2 separate regions of the Homo sapiens genome follow, and region 2 is linked to region 1. The links are contacts of gene promoters, found by promoter capture Hi-C in human tissues and cell types (Jung and others, 2019). All regions are on one chromosome and are shown on one strand. Each heading gives the region's core, a stretch centred on a gene start or on the middle of the fragment in contact. The rest is flanking DNA. Distances are from core to core; before and after follow the strand shown. Region 1 holds the start of BEST4 (bestrophin 4). Region 2 overlaps EIF2B3 (eukaryotic translation initiation factor 2B subunit gamma).

The links. The method cuts DNA at HindIII sites, captures the fragments that hold promoters and counts their contacts. A contact is called where the count stands out against the background at its distance.
Region 2: a fragment that was not itself captured here is called in contact with the fragment with the promoter of BEST4 in region 1 in 2 of the 25 tissues and cell types used here (IMR-90 fibroblasts and liver).

Annotation. Positions count from the first base shown.
Region 1 is chr1:44,785,011-44,791,095 of GRCh38, reverse strand. BEST4 (bestrophin 4) reads left to right here and starts at 2,926. Exons shown (of 9, transcript NM_153274.3): 1 at 2,926-3,542; 2 at 3,630-3,724; 3 at 4,400-4,633; 4 at 4,868-5,022; 5 at 5,420-5,497; 6 at 5,791-5,988. The coding sequence starts at 3,391. RefSeq lists enhancers at 3,698-4,383, 4,385-4,474, 4,384-5,069 and a silencer at 4,595-4,724. The HindIII fragment of the contact is 9,775 bases long and covers 1-6,085 here.
Region 2 is chr1:44,906,670-44,912,199 of GRCh38, reverse strand. All of the region lies in intron 5 of EIF2B3 (eukaryotic translation initiation factor 2B subunit gamma), which reads left to right. Among named protein-coding and RNA genes, the nearest start is that of PTCH2, 66 kb to the right of the region's middle. The HindIII fragment of the contact is 5,381 bases long and covers 1-3,972 here.

The DNA of each region.
Region 1 (6,085 bases), core at 1,677-4,176:
AGGGGTGGGGTGGGGGACCAGATGTCTTTCATCTTAAAAGGGAAGAGAGAAATGGAGAACAAAAGAGGGGGTGGAGGGAGGCAAGAAGGAGGGAAGGATGAGAAGAAAGAAAGAAAAAGAAGCTTGCTTGGTTTCAAGTCCTCCCCAGCTTTTTCTTTTTCTTTTTTTGTTTTTGTTTTTGTTTTGAGACAGGGTCTCACTCTGTCACCCAAGCTGGAGTGCAATGGCTGTATCATGGCTCACTGCAGCCTCAAACTCCTGGGCTCAAGTGATCCTCCCACCTCAGCCTCCCAAGTACCTGGACTATAGGCACACACCACCACACCCAGCTAATTTAAAAAAATTTTTTGTAGAGACAGGTCTCACTATGTCGCCCAGGCTGGTCTCAAACTCCTGGGCTTAAGTGATCCTCCCACCTCAGCCTCCCAAAGTGTCAGGATTACAGGCATGAGCCACTGTAATCTAGCTTTACCTAGATGAATCAGATTCAAAACTGTTCTCAGGTGTCTCACAGGCTAGAGGGGAGATCTCCCTGTAAACAGATCATAGACCACTGTGATTAACTGCTGCAAGAGAGAAAACCCAGAGGGTTTTGAGGAGTAACCTGGGGAAGATCATGGAAGGCTTCCTAGAGGGTGCTCTGAGCCACATCTTGAAGGAACAGTTACAAATGAGCTAGGCATATACACCTACTATGCACTCACAAAAATTAAAATTAAAAAAAAATTTTATATGAGCTAGGCAGAGACTGGTGATGAGGGTAGAGGTGGGTAAGTCTCAGAGGGCCTTGTGTATTCAGCTTAAAAGCCAGGATCCAGCACTGTTTGGTCTGGGGCAGGTTAGCAGGACATGAAGAAAAGGTCTCTGCCTCCTCATTTCTCAGGGACTGTCTGGCTTGGAAGGCTTGGTAGGCAAGACTGGACCAGTCGTGGGAAACCAAAGAGAACAGATTCAAATTTTCATAGTAACAGCAGCCCAAGCCAACCACCCACAGTGCTTTAGGCCATAGGCATTGTTTCTGTGAATACTCAAAATTGCCCCATGAGGTTAGGCGTTCTTGATTCTGATTTGCAGAGGAGGAAACTGAGGTTCAGAGAGATTAGGTAACTTGCACAGTTACAAAGAGCTGGGGTTCAGACCCAGGTTTGTCCAATTCCCAAGCCTGTGCTCCTAATCACCTCTCTATGCTTCCTATCTTTAGGAAACTTGCAGAAGAGAACCAGCTCACAGTGTAGGGGGAGGAGCTTCCCAAAACAAGACAGAGGCAGGACCACCACTCTTGGGATTTTTCAGTGTTCACTTACCTCAGCACTGGGAGGGTAAGTAAGCTGCCAATTCTCTTCCACTTTGAGGTTCTATTTCTTTTCTTTTCTTTTTTCTTTTTCTTTTTCTTTTTTGAGACAAAGTTTTGCTCTTGTTGTCCAGGCTGGAGTGCAATGGCATGATCTCGGCTCACCGCAATCTCCACCTCCCAGGTTCAAGCGATTCTTCTGTCTCAGCCTCCGGAGTAGCTGGGATTACAGGCATGTGCCACCATGCTCAGCTAATTTTGTATTTTTAGTAGAGATGGGGTTTCTCCATGTTGGTCAGGCTGATCTCGAACTCCCGACCTCAGGTGATCCGCCTGCCTCGGCCTCCCAAAGTGCTGGGATTACAGGCGTGAGTCACAGTGCCTGGCCTTTTTTTTTTTTTTTTTTTTTGAGACAGAGTCTCTGTCACCCAAGCTGAAGTGCAGTGGCACAATCTCAGCTCACTGCAACCTCTCCCTCCCGGGTTCAAGCGATTCTCCCATTGAGATTCTATTTCTTTTTCTTTTTCTTTTTCTTTCTTTCTTTTCTTTTTTTTTTTTTTTTGATTACCCAGGCTAGAGTGCAGTGGCACGATCTCAACTCGTTGCAACCTGCGCCTCCCCAGGTTCAAGCAATTCTCCTGCCTCAGCCTCCCATGTACCTGCTGGGATTACAAGTTCGTGCCACCACACCCGGCTAATTTTTGTATTTTTAGTAGAGACAGGGTTTCACCATGTTGGGCCAGGCTAGTCTCGAACTCCTGACCTCAAGTGATCCACCTGCGTTGAGGCTGCCCAAAGTGCTAGGATTACAGGTGTGAGCCACCTTGCCTGGCAGCGGAAGTTCTATTTCTATCAGCGCCTTAGGTATTACTTCCTCCAGAGGTGAAAGTGGCCACTCAAATCTTGGGCACCCCTAGGAGTCAGGATGTTGGACACAGGGCTTAACGGAGCCTGCACTCCTAGGCCTGAGCTTCCAGATCTGTGGCTGTCAGCCCCGTGGCATGGATGGAGAAGAGCCTGGCCAAGCCCCCAAGCCCCTGTACAAGAAGACTGGGAGTGTGGCCAGTGCACAGGATGGGTCCTGGAGCTCATGCCTTTGCTAGGCCACTTCCAGCCTTGGAAGTCCATCAGCCCTGGCTTTGAATCCTGCCTCCAACATGTTCTAGCTGTATGGCCGACGGCGGGCAAGTCATTTACCTCTTGGAGCCTCATCTGTGAAATGTGGATGATTGATTCCCTACCTCATGGTGCTGTGATGAGGATTTCTTGAGAGGATGACCTAGTAGTGCCCTTGGCATGGTTCCTGTCACTTAGTCAGTGCTCTGTGATCAGCAGCTGGTATTATTATAACAGTTTATCATGCATCTGTCTTCCCACCTGAAACGTGGGACAATAACCCCTGTCATACTGGCTTGAAGGACATGGTGTCGTCTGTGTGAGCTGTGGGGTCAGTATAGCTGGCATTTCTGCCACTCGAAGGCCAGCCCAACCCTACAGGGGTAAGGAGACACACCCAGTTCCCAGCACCAGGGGAAGCTGGATGACAGCTTCAATCCATCAATGATAGGCCTCAGTCCAGCCTAACTTTATGGACTGCAGAGGTACTTAAGTCTGTGGGGGTTGAAGTCTAGCCCAGTTCATCTTCCACACGGGCTGCTGCCCAGAGCAGGTAGGCAGGTATGGGATGGGGGTGAGAGTGCCCTGGGCCCTGGTAGTTCTAGTTAATCAGCTTCCAAAGCAAGGCCCCAAGGAATAGCAGTGGATTTGGGCTGGAGCTGCGTCTCTTGTCCGCAGCAGTTCAGGATCTGGTTATCCCTAGCCCTGCAGGCTGAAGAGGAGCTTGAGGAAACCTCATGCATGAAGGGACACAGATCTCAGTTCTACCTTGTCCAACTCTAGCCTGGCTTTGCCCATGTACTGCTCAGTTCTGCAGGGGGTGGGGTGTACTTTTCTGCTCTGCAGGCTCCTACCCCCTTGTCCACTGACGCAGGGTGAAGGCTGGGGTGTGTGAGACCAGAGTGGAAGGGAGGTTGTCTGGAGAACTAAACGACAGCCCTGGGGGCAACTCTTGTGACCTCCTGCCCCAGGCTCCCAGCACCATGACGGTTTCATACACTCTCAAAGTGGCGGAGGCCCGCTTCGGAGGTTTCTCTGGCCTGCTTCTCCGCTGGAGGGGAAGCATCTACAAGCTCCTCTACAAGGAATTCCTCCTCTTTGGGGCCTTGTACGCTGTGCTTAGCATCACCTACCGGTAAGGGCAGGGTCTTAGAGCTGGCGCAAGTGGGGAGACTGGGCCACCCACCTCCCTCTAACCCAAGCCTACACCTGCCTTCCCCAGGCTGCTGCTGACCCAGGAGCAGAGGTACGTGTATGCTCAGGTGGCCCGGTACTGCAACCGCTCAGCAGACCTCATTCCCTTGTCCTTTGTATTGGGTAAGGCTCCCTTCTAGTTTTCCCTGTGTCCCCCTTACTGTGTTCCCTGACCTCTGGGTTGGGTTGACAGCTCCGAGGGTCAGAATTACCCAACAGATGGTGTGGTGACACACCTGCAGTCTCAGCTACTCGAGAGGCTGAGGTGAGAGGATCGCTTGAGCCCAGGAGTTCCAGTCCAGCCTGGGCAATGTAGCGAGACTCTGCTAAAAAAAAAAAAAAAAAAAAAAAGAATTACTCAACACGGTGGCAGAGCCTTCCTGGTCAGCCAGAGCAGGCCCAGCAGGCACAGGAGCTGGGTGCTGGGTCCAGGACTTCCAGAGGGCAGGGCCCTATCACTTGCCGGACCCTCACTTCCAGCAAGGCACAAGACACCTGCTGGCCTCACAAGCCCACCCTGGGCACTGCAGGGGAGCTGGACAGAGGTGACAACCCCTTCCCCACCCTCCTGGGAAGCAGTCTCCTGGCTTTGAATCCCCACTTTCCCTCTGCTGAAGGAAGTTTGCCCTCCTCCCTCCTCCTGGCCTCGCACAGCAGGGCACTGGAGCTGAATGTTTCCTTCCCCCTGCCACGATTCAACTGGCCTGGACCAGGCCCTTTGCTGGGGGAGGTGAGGCGCTCCGACCCCCAGGCTCTCCACTCTCCCTTCCTACTCCCTCTATCACGGCGGCCAAGCAGGTTTCTATGTGACTCTCGTGGTGAACCGCTGGTGGTCCCAGTACACAAGCATCCCGCTGCCAGACCAGCTGATGTGCGTCATCTCGGCTAGCGTGCACGGCGTGGACCAGCGGGGCCGCCTGCTGCGCCGCACCCTCATCCGCTACGCGAACCTGGCGTCCGTGCTGGTGCTGCGCTCGGTCAGCACCCGCGTGCTTAAGCGCTTCCCCACCATGGAGCACGTGGTGGACGCAGGTGCGCCGCCCGCCGGGAGCCTCTGGGGGTCCGGCCCACAGCCGGATGCAGGTGGCGCCTGGGAGAGTCCTGGGAGCAGGGGCCTCCAGGGAAGGGTCTGGACTGCGACAGGAACGCGGAACCGCGAGTCCTGGGACAGCCGGTGGACGCGAGGGAGGGGAGCCAGACGGCGGAACAGCAGCCTCCCCTGGCGGCAGAGGGTGCAACTGCACCCCACCTGCTTTACCCCCTCAGGTTTCATGTCCCAGGAAGAGAGGAAAAAGTTTGAGAGCCTGAAATCCGACTTCAACAAGTACTGGGTCCCCTGCGTCTGGTTCACCAACCTGGCGGCCCAGGCCCGGAGGGACGGGCGAATACGTGACGATATCGCTCTCTGTCTACTTTTGGAAGTGAGTGGGCTCAGGACCAGACCCATCTGCCCTCCTCCCTCTAATTTTAAAGATGAATAATAATTTTAATACCTAACAGTTGTATGGCATCAGCTGTGTACCCCAGCCTTTTGGAAGCCCTGTACCCATGTTAACTCATTCATCCCTTACAGCAACTCTTGACATAGGTACTATCATCCTCCTTGCACAGATGTGGAAACTGAGGCACAGAGTAGAAAAGAAATTTGCCTAAGTTACACAGCTAGTTAGCAGAGCTGGGATTCAAGCACCCCATCTTAATACACCTCTGAGGGCAGAATGAGAAAGAGCCTCCTGGCCAGGCCCAGGCCTAGTTTGTGCTGGGCACCCCTGTTCCTTCCTCACCTCTGCTGACTTCCTGTTCCTGCTGTTCCCCCAGGAGCTGAACAAGTACCGAGCCAAGTGCAGCATGCTATTCCACTATGACTGGATCAGCATCCCCCTCGTCTACACCCAAGTAACTGCCTCTCCCCTCCCGAGTCCCAGTGCCTACTGTATGTCCTGTGCTGTGTGTGAGATGAGAAGAATTAGCGATGGTACTTGCCTGGCCATTTCAGTCCCCTGAGGCACCGGGTTCATCCTAAAAGCCCCCCACCACCCCCAACAAGGTGACCCTGTCCCCACTGGTACTGCCACACCAGGATACATGTTTGATTACTTGTCAGACTTCCCATAGATCCTCAGAGGCAGGGGCAGCATTTCTCCTTGGCCCGCTGCATCCTGCACTGAGCCTGGCTCTTCATTCTCCAGGTGGTGACCATAGCCGTCTACTCTTTCTTTGCCCTCTCCCTGGTTGGCCGCCAGTTTGTGGAGCCAGAGGCAGGGGCTGCCAAACCTCAGAAGCTTCTGAAGCCAGGCCAGGAGCCAGCCCCAGCCCTGGGAGACCCGGACATGTACGTGCCTCTCACCACTCTGCTGCAGTTCTTCTTCTATGCTGGCTGGCTCAAGGTGGGCACTGCAGATGGGCATGCCAGCCTGCTCTGTGGAGATGTGGGCAGAGGGGCTGCCCCGACTTTGGGGAAAAAGAGTGGGGCTCTGAACCCAG
Region 2 (5,530 bases), core at 33-2,532, 120 kb before region 1:
TGTTCTGTATTAGAGATAGCAGCCCTAGACATTAAGTTCTTAAAAGCACTATTCACAATAGCAAAGACTTGGAACCAACCCAAATGTCCAACAATGATAGACTGGATTAAGAAAATGTGGCACATATACACCATGGAATACTATGCAGCCATAAAAAATGATGAGTTCATGTCCTTTGTAGGGACATGGATGAAATTGGAAATCATCATTCTCAGTAAACTATCGCAAGAACAAAAAACCAAACACCGCATGTTCTCACTCATAGGTGGGAATTGAACAATGAGAACACATGGACACAGGAAGGGGAACATCACACTCTGGGGACTGTTGTGGGTTGGGGGAGGGGGGAGGGATAGCATTGGGAGATATACCTAATGCTAGATGACGAGTTAGTGGGTGCAGCGCACCAGCATGGCACATGTATACATATGTAACTAACCTGCACATTGTGCACATGTACCCTAAAACTTAAAGTATAATAAAAAAACAAAACAAAACAAAACAAACAAACAAAAAAGCAAGACTCATACGTTTCTCTGGTTACAACTAAAGGGTGGGTGGAGGTTGTTTTCTGTTTTCTTTTTAACCTCTGTGGGAACTAGTTTATGGCTCCATACAATGGAGTGTTAGTAACTGCCTTAATTGTAATTACATTTGACAATGAGAGCAAGGCTTGGGCATGATGGGAGCAAAGAAGATGGACCTAGTCAGAGGTGAGGTGATAATGAAGAGCAGGTGGATGTGTCTTTTTCCTTCATAGATGTCAAGCTCAGGGCCTTGACTAAGCACTGGGGTCATTGAGAGCAGATCTTCTATCAGTTTCCTAAGACTAGGCTGCATTTTTAGTTGTTGGCAGATTTTTTTCCTTGTTCTTCTGATTTATAATCCACACCCCAGTGATTCAGGATCTTTGGTGTGTAGTTATAAAAGGGTTGCAGGCTGGATAAATATGCATAAAAATATTCTCTCATTCCTATGACCCTCTGGGGTGTTGTGCTCCTCCTGCCTCAAGTGAGATGCTGGTTAAAAGCTAATTAGATTCAGATTTTCAAGCACTTTCTGATTATGAGAATACAGTACTTCCTTCTGTTTTTATCTTTTTTAAAACGCTGAATTTCCAAAGATGGAGGTTAGCTCCTAGTGAGCAAACACCAGTTATCTTGGATACGGCCTTCATGTATATAGGAAAATCAGAAACTTCTTGTAAAGTTTTTTTAACTTTTGTAAATTGGGTTCAGTCTATACTGCTCAGGAGATGGGTGCGCCAAAATCTCAGATTACCACTGAAGAACTTACTCATGTAACCAAATACCACCTGTTCCCCCAAAACCTATGGAAAAAAAATTTAAAAAAGAAAGAGAGAGAGAAAAGGACAATGACAGAATGTACATCCCATCAGTTTTCTCTTTCTGAGAGAGAGGCTGGGTGTGGTGGCTCACACCTGTAATCCCAGCACTTTAGGAGGCTGAGGTGGAAGGATTGCTTGAGCCCAGAAGTTTCAGACCAGCCTGGGCAACATAGCAAGACCCATTTCTCTCTTTTAAAAAAAAAAAAAAAAAAAAAAAAAAGCATTACTTGGGGGGGTGGGGAGGGATAAAATGTTTGCTTGATTTCAAAGACACCTGTTAGAATATGGTCAGGTGCAGAGGCAGCCTCCCCAGCAAGCTAGTCATCAGTCAGTACTAGTAACTTTACCTCAAAGGGCCCAGATTCTTATGACCTTGTTGGATTTAAACAAAGCACAACACCTTTCCTACATGTCTGATTGTTGCATTTCTGACTTGGAGAGGCATTACATGTAGTAGGAAAGAATGTTCTGGTAGAAGGAGCTTGTTACTGAAAATTCAGGTTCAGAGAATTTGCAGTCTAGTCTGGAGACAAACCAGCTGTGTGACCTTGAGCAAATAACTTTATTTTTCTAAGCCTCAGTTTCCCCCAGCTGAAATTGGCTTAGTTGGTCTTTAAAGAAACCCCCCTCCAGCTCTAAAATTCCTGCTTTATTTCTGACAGACATATGTTTTTAATAGTTCATAAGTAAAAGATATTTGTGCCAAATATTTAATAAGAAAATCATGTAGCTTTTCCCCAATGTTACATTGTTTTCTTTTGAATAGTTGTCAAGCTTTTTTACTGGAAGAGTAATGAAAATATTAAAACAAGCTCCTAAAGGATATCTTTAAAATGGAATAAAATGTTCACAAGGTCATCTTGGAAGGTTTAGACATCTATATCTGGGGAGTCAAGGACTTCAGTCAAGACCTCAAAGATCATGGCCAGATCTGTATTTCTGGGACTACAGATGATGAGAAATGGTTTAAACCCTTGATTATTTTCCCAATGGTGTGGGAGTCTTGAAATACTATTTATGTAAGTTAGTACCTCTGCTGCTCCTAACCAGCCCTAATTCCCAAAATACCTCTCTTAATTTGCAGTTTGGGATGGGGGCAGGTACAGAAGGGAAGAAGGGCTTGTGGAAGTTAGGATCACAAACCTTTCCCAAGGTATCTTGTCCAGTGTATTCTTACTCTTTTGTACTTTTAATTTACTTCTATAAAATGATATGGCTGTAAGATAACCCATGTCAATATCTTTAAGTCTTTGCTTTGGAGCTGGCCATATAGACTTCAGAGAAAAATCTTCCAATCTCCTGCCTGGGTGGGTAAAAGCTGTGCTGCCAATTCCTGATCATTTCAGGGCTCCTGAGATACAAATCAAGCTGCTTCTTAGCTTTCCTTATAGATGGTTTAGGATTCACCTTTCTTGGATATGCTAAATCTGTTACCACCACCATCCTTTTGTTTTCCAGCTTCCAAAATTTTGTTGTCATCTCTTCTTGTGGTCTTTGTCCTTGTGGGTTTATGTCTTTAAAAAAAAAAAAAATCTGTACTGACACTTCAGTGAGTTTTCAGAAAGAGGATGGGTTAACGCTTATGTTTAATCTGCCATCTTTACCCAGAATCCTGTTTCCTTATTTCAGCCTCAAATCTTTCTAGTCCCTTACTACCACCACTCCTACCCTCTCTTTTTTCTCTCCCTCTCTCTCTCTTTTCCCCCCTCATTTCCTTCTTCATCCAATCTAGGTCCTGTGCCTTCAGGCATTTCTCTCCAAGTCCAAAGTCTTTAGGAGAAATATTATGCACGGATATAAATTGGCAGCACTATAAATTCATGGCTCCTATCTTAGCTGAACCCTCAGAACCACTCTTCATTCTTCCATTTGTCCTGGGCCAGCTTTCCACTCCTCTCAGAAGCTGTTCTCTACCATCACCATTCTCCTGTCAAAACATGGGCCTGCTGATTTCCCCAGCTACCCCATCCATGACTTTGCCTTTATTCAGACCCACCTTCGATTCCTTTCCTCCAGCATTAGAAGAAGTTTGGGGCCAGTCCCTTCATTTATGCCTTTTACCCCCTTTCTTCTGCCACTCCTGGAACCTTTTCTCCATTAGTTTTTTCAACATTCTCCAGAATTTTCAACTTTGCTTTCCACTATCTCTTTATCCCAAATCTATAAATACATTGCTTGTAGAATAAAGCACACATTCCTAAAGCCCTCAGTTATCTAATCATGCTTACCCCTCCAGCCTTATATCTCATCTTTCTCTAACACAACCCCATTCTCAACATTCTATCAGTAGCTATGAAAAATTGCTTATAGTTCTGTTAACTTCTGCATTCCTTGTAATGTCTTTGTCCTTTTACTTTTCACCGTTCCTGGTAATCCTTCAGCCAAAGTTACTCTTCTCTCCCTGGCTAAGAACTTATTTTTCTTTCAAGACTCAGCTCAAATATCATTTTTCTGTGAAGATTTTTCTAATCTTTCCTGTCATAGGCAGAACCGTGCTTCTTCCTTTGTGCTCCCCTATATACTGAAGAAAGTTCTGTGGTAACATTTATAACCCTGTATTGCTCTGGACTATAAGTTACATAAGGATAGTGGTTGTATTTTGTCTTTGTAGGCCTAAGGTCTAATACATGGCCTGACATAGTAGGATCCCAGTAAATTTGTTGGAAGAGGACATTAATGGAGCCAGAGTGTCACCTTGTGTTTGAATGTGCTTTGGCAACAGAGTCTTTATAGGCAGAGCTGAGACTTCTTAATCTTGTGAATTGGAGAAAGGGCTGGAACAGCATTATTTGCACCACATTCTTCAGATCAAAGCAGTCATAAGCCCAGCCCAGAGTCATGAGATGCAAAATAGACTCTACCTCATGATGGGAGGAGCTGCAAAGTTACTTTACAAAAGGATATGAGTACAGAGAGGGGAATAATTGTGGCCATCTTTTTTTTTTTTTTTTTTTTTTTTTTGAGATGGAGTTTCGCTCTTGTTGCCCAGACTGGAGTGCAATGGCGTGATCTCGGCTCACTGCAACCTCCACCTCCTGGGTTCAAGCGATTCTCCTGCCTTAGCCACCGAGTAGCTGGCATGCACCACCATGCCCGGCTAATTTTGTATTTTTAATAGAGACAGGGTTTCTCCATGTTGGTCAGGCTGGTCTTGAACTCCTGACCTCAGGTGATCCCCCCACCTCAGCCTCCCAAAGTGCTGGGATTACAGGCATGAGCCACCGTGCCCGGCTGTGACCATTTTTAAAACAATCTACTGTAGTCCCAACTACCAAAGCATTTTTTGTTTGTTTTTGAGAAGGAGTTTTGCTCTGTCGCCAGGCTGGAGTGCAATGGCACGATCTTGGCTCACTGCCACCTCTGACTTCCTGGTTCAAGCAATTCTCCTGCCTCAGCTTCCCAAGTAGCTGGGATTACAGGCACGCCCCACCACGCCCAGCTAATTTTTGTATTTTTAGTAGAAATGAGGTTTCACCATGTTGGCCAGGATGGTCTCCATCCCCTGACCTCGTGATCCACCCACCTCGGCCACCCAAAGTGCTGGGAGTACAGGCATGAGCCACCGCGCCCAGCCACTACCAAAGCATTTTAAGCAGGGAATGACACAATCAAATTTGCCTTCGAAAGATAACTCTGGATACAATATGGAGAAAGGATTGGAGTTGGGTAAGAGAGGATGCAGAGAGACCAAGTAAGGGAAGGTATTGTAGTAATCCAGGTAAGAAGTAATGGTAATTTGAACTAGGGTATTGACAGTGGAGTTGGAGAAAAGTAGATAAGTTAGAGAAGGATTTAGCAGGTAAAATCTGAGGACTTGGTGTTTGAACCTTGGGGTTGAGAAGTGTAGTGGTGTCAAAAAAGACTCACATTTCAGGTTTGAGCAGCAGGATAATAATCAGATAGGAAGCACTGGGTTTGTGGCAGGGAGATCCGAAGTTCATTTGGGGATCCAGGTAAACAGGAGTAAGTCATATATAGACTCGGTGTTCAGAGGATAGGACTATGCTTCAGATATAAATTTGTAAGCATTAATATATAGATGTCAACTTAGTGTCTTGTACATACCTGGTACTTAGGAGAAAGTTATTTGCCCAGCTGTTGAACCTCAAGGGTGGGGAATGTCTGAGCTAGGTTGTTTCATAATATCTTTTATCCCGGGCACGGTGGCTCATGCCTGTAATC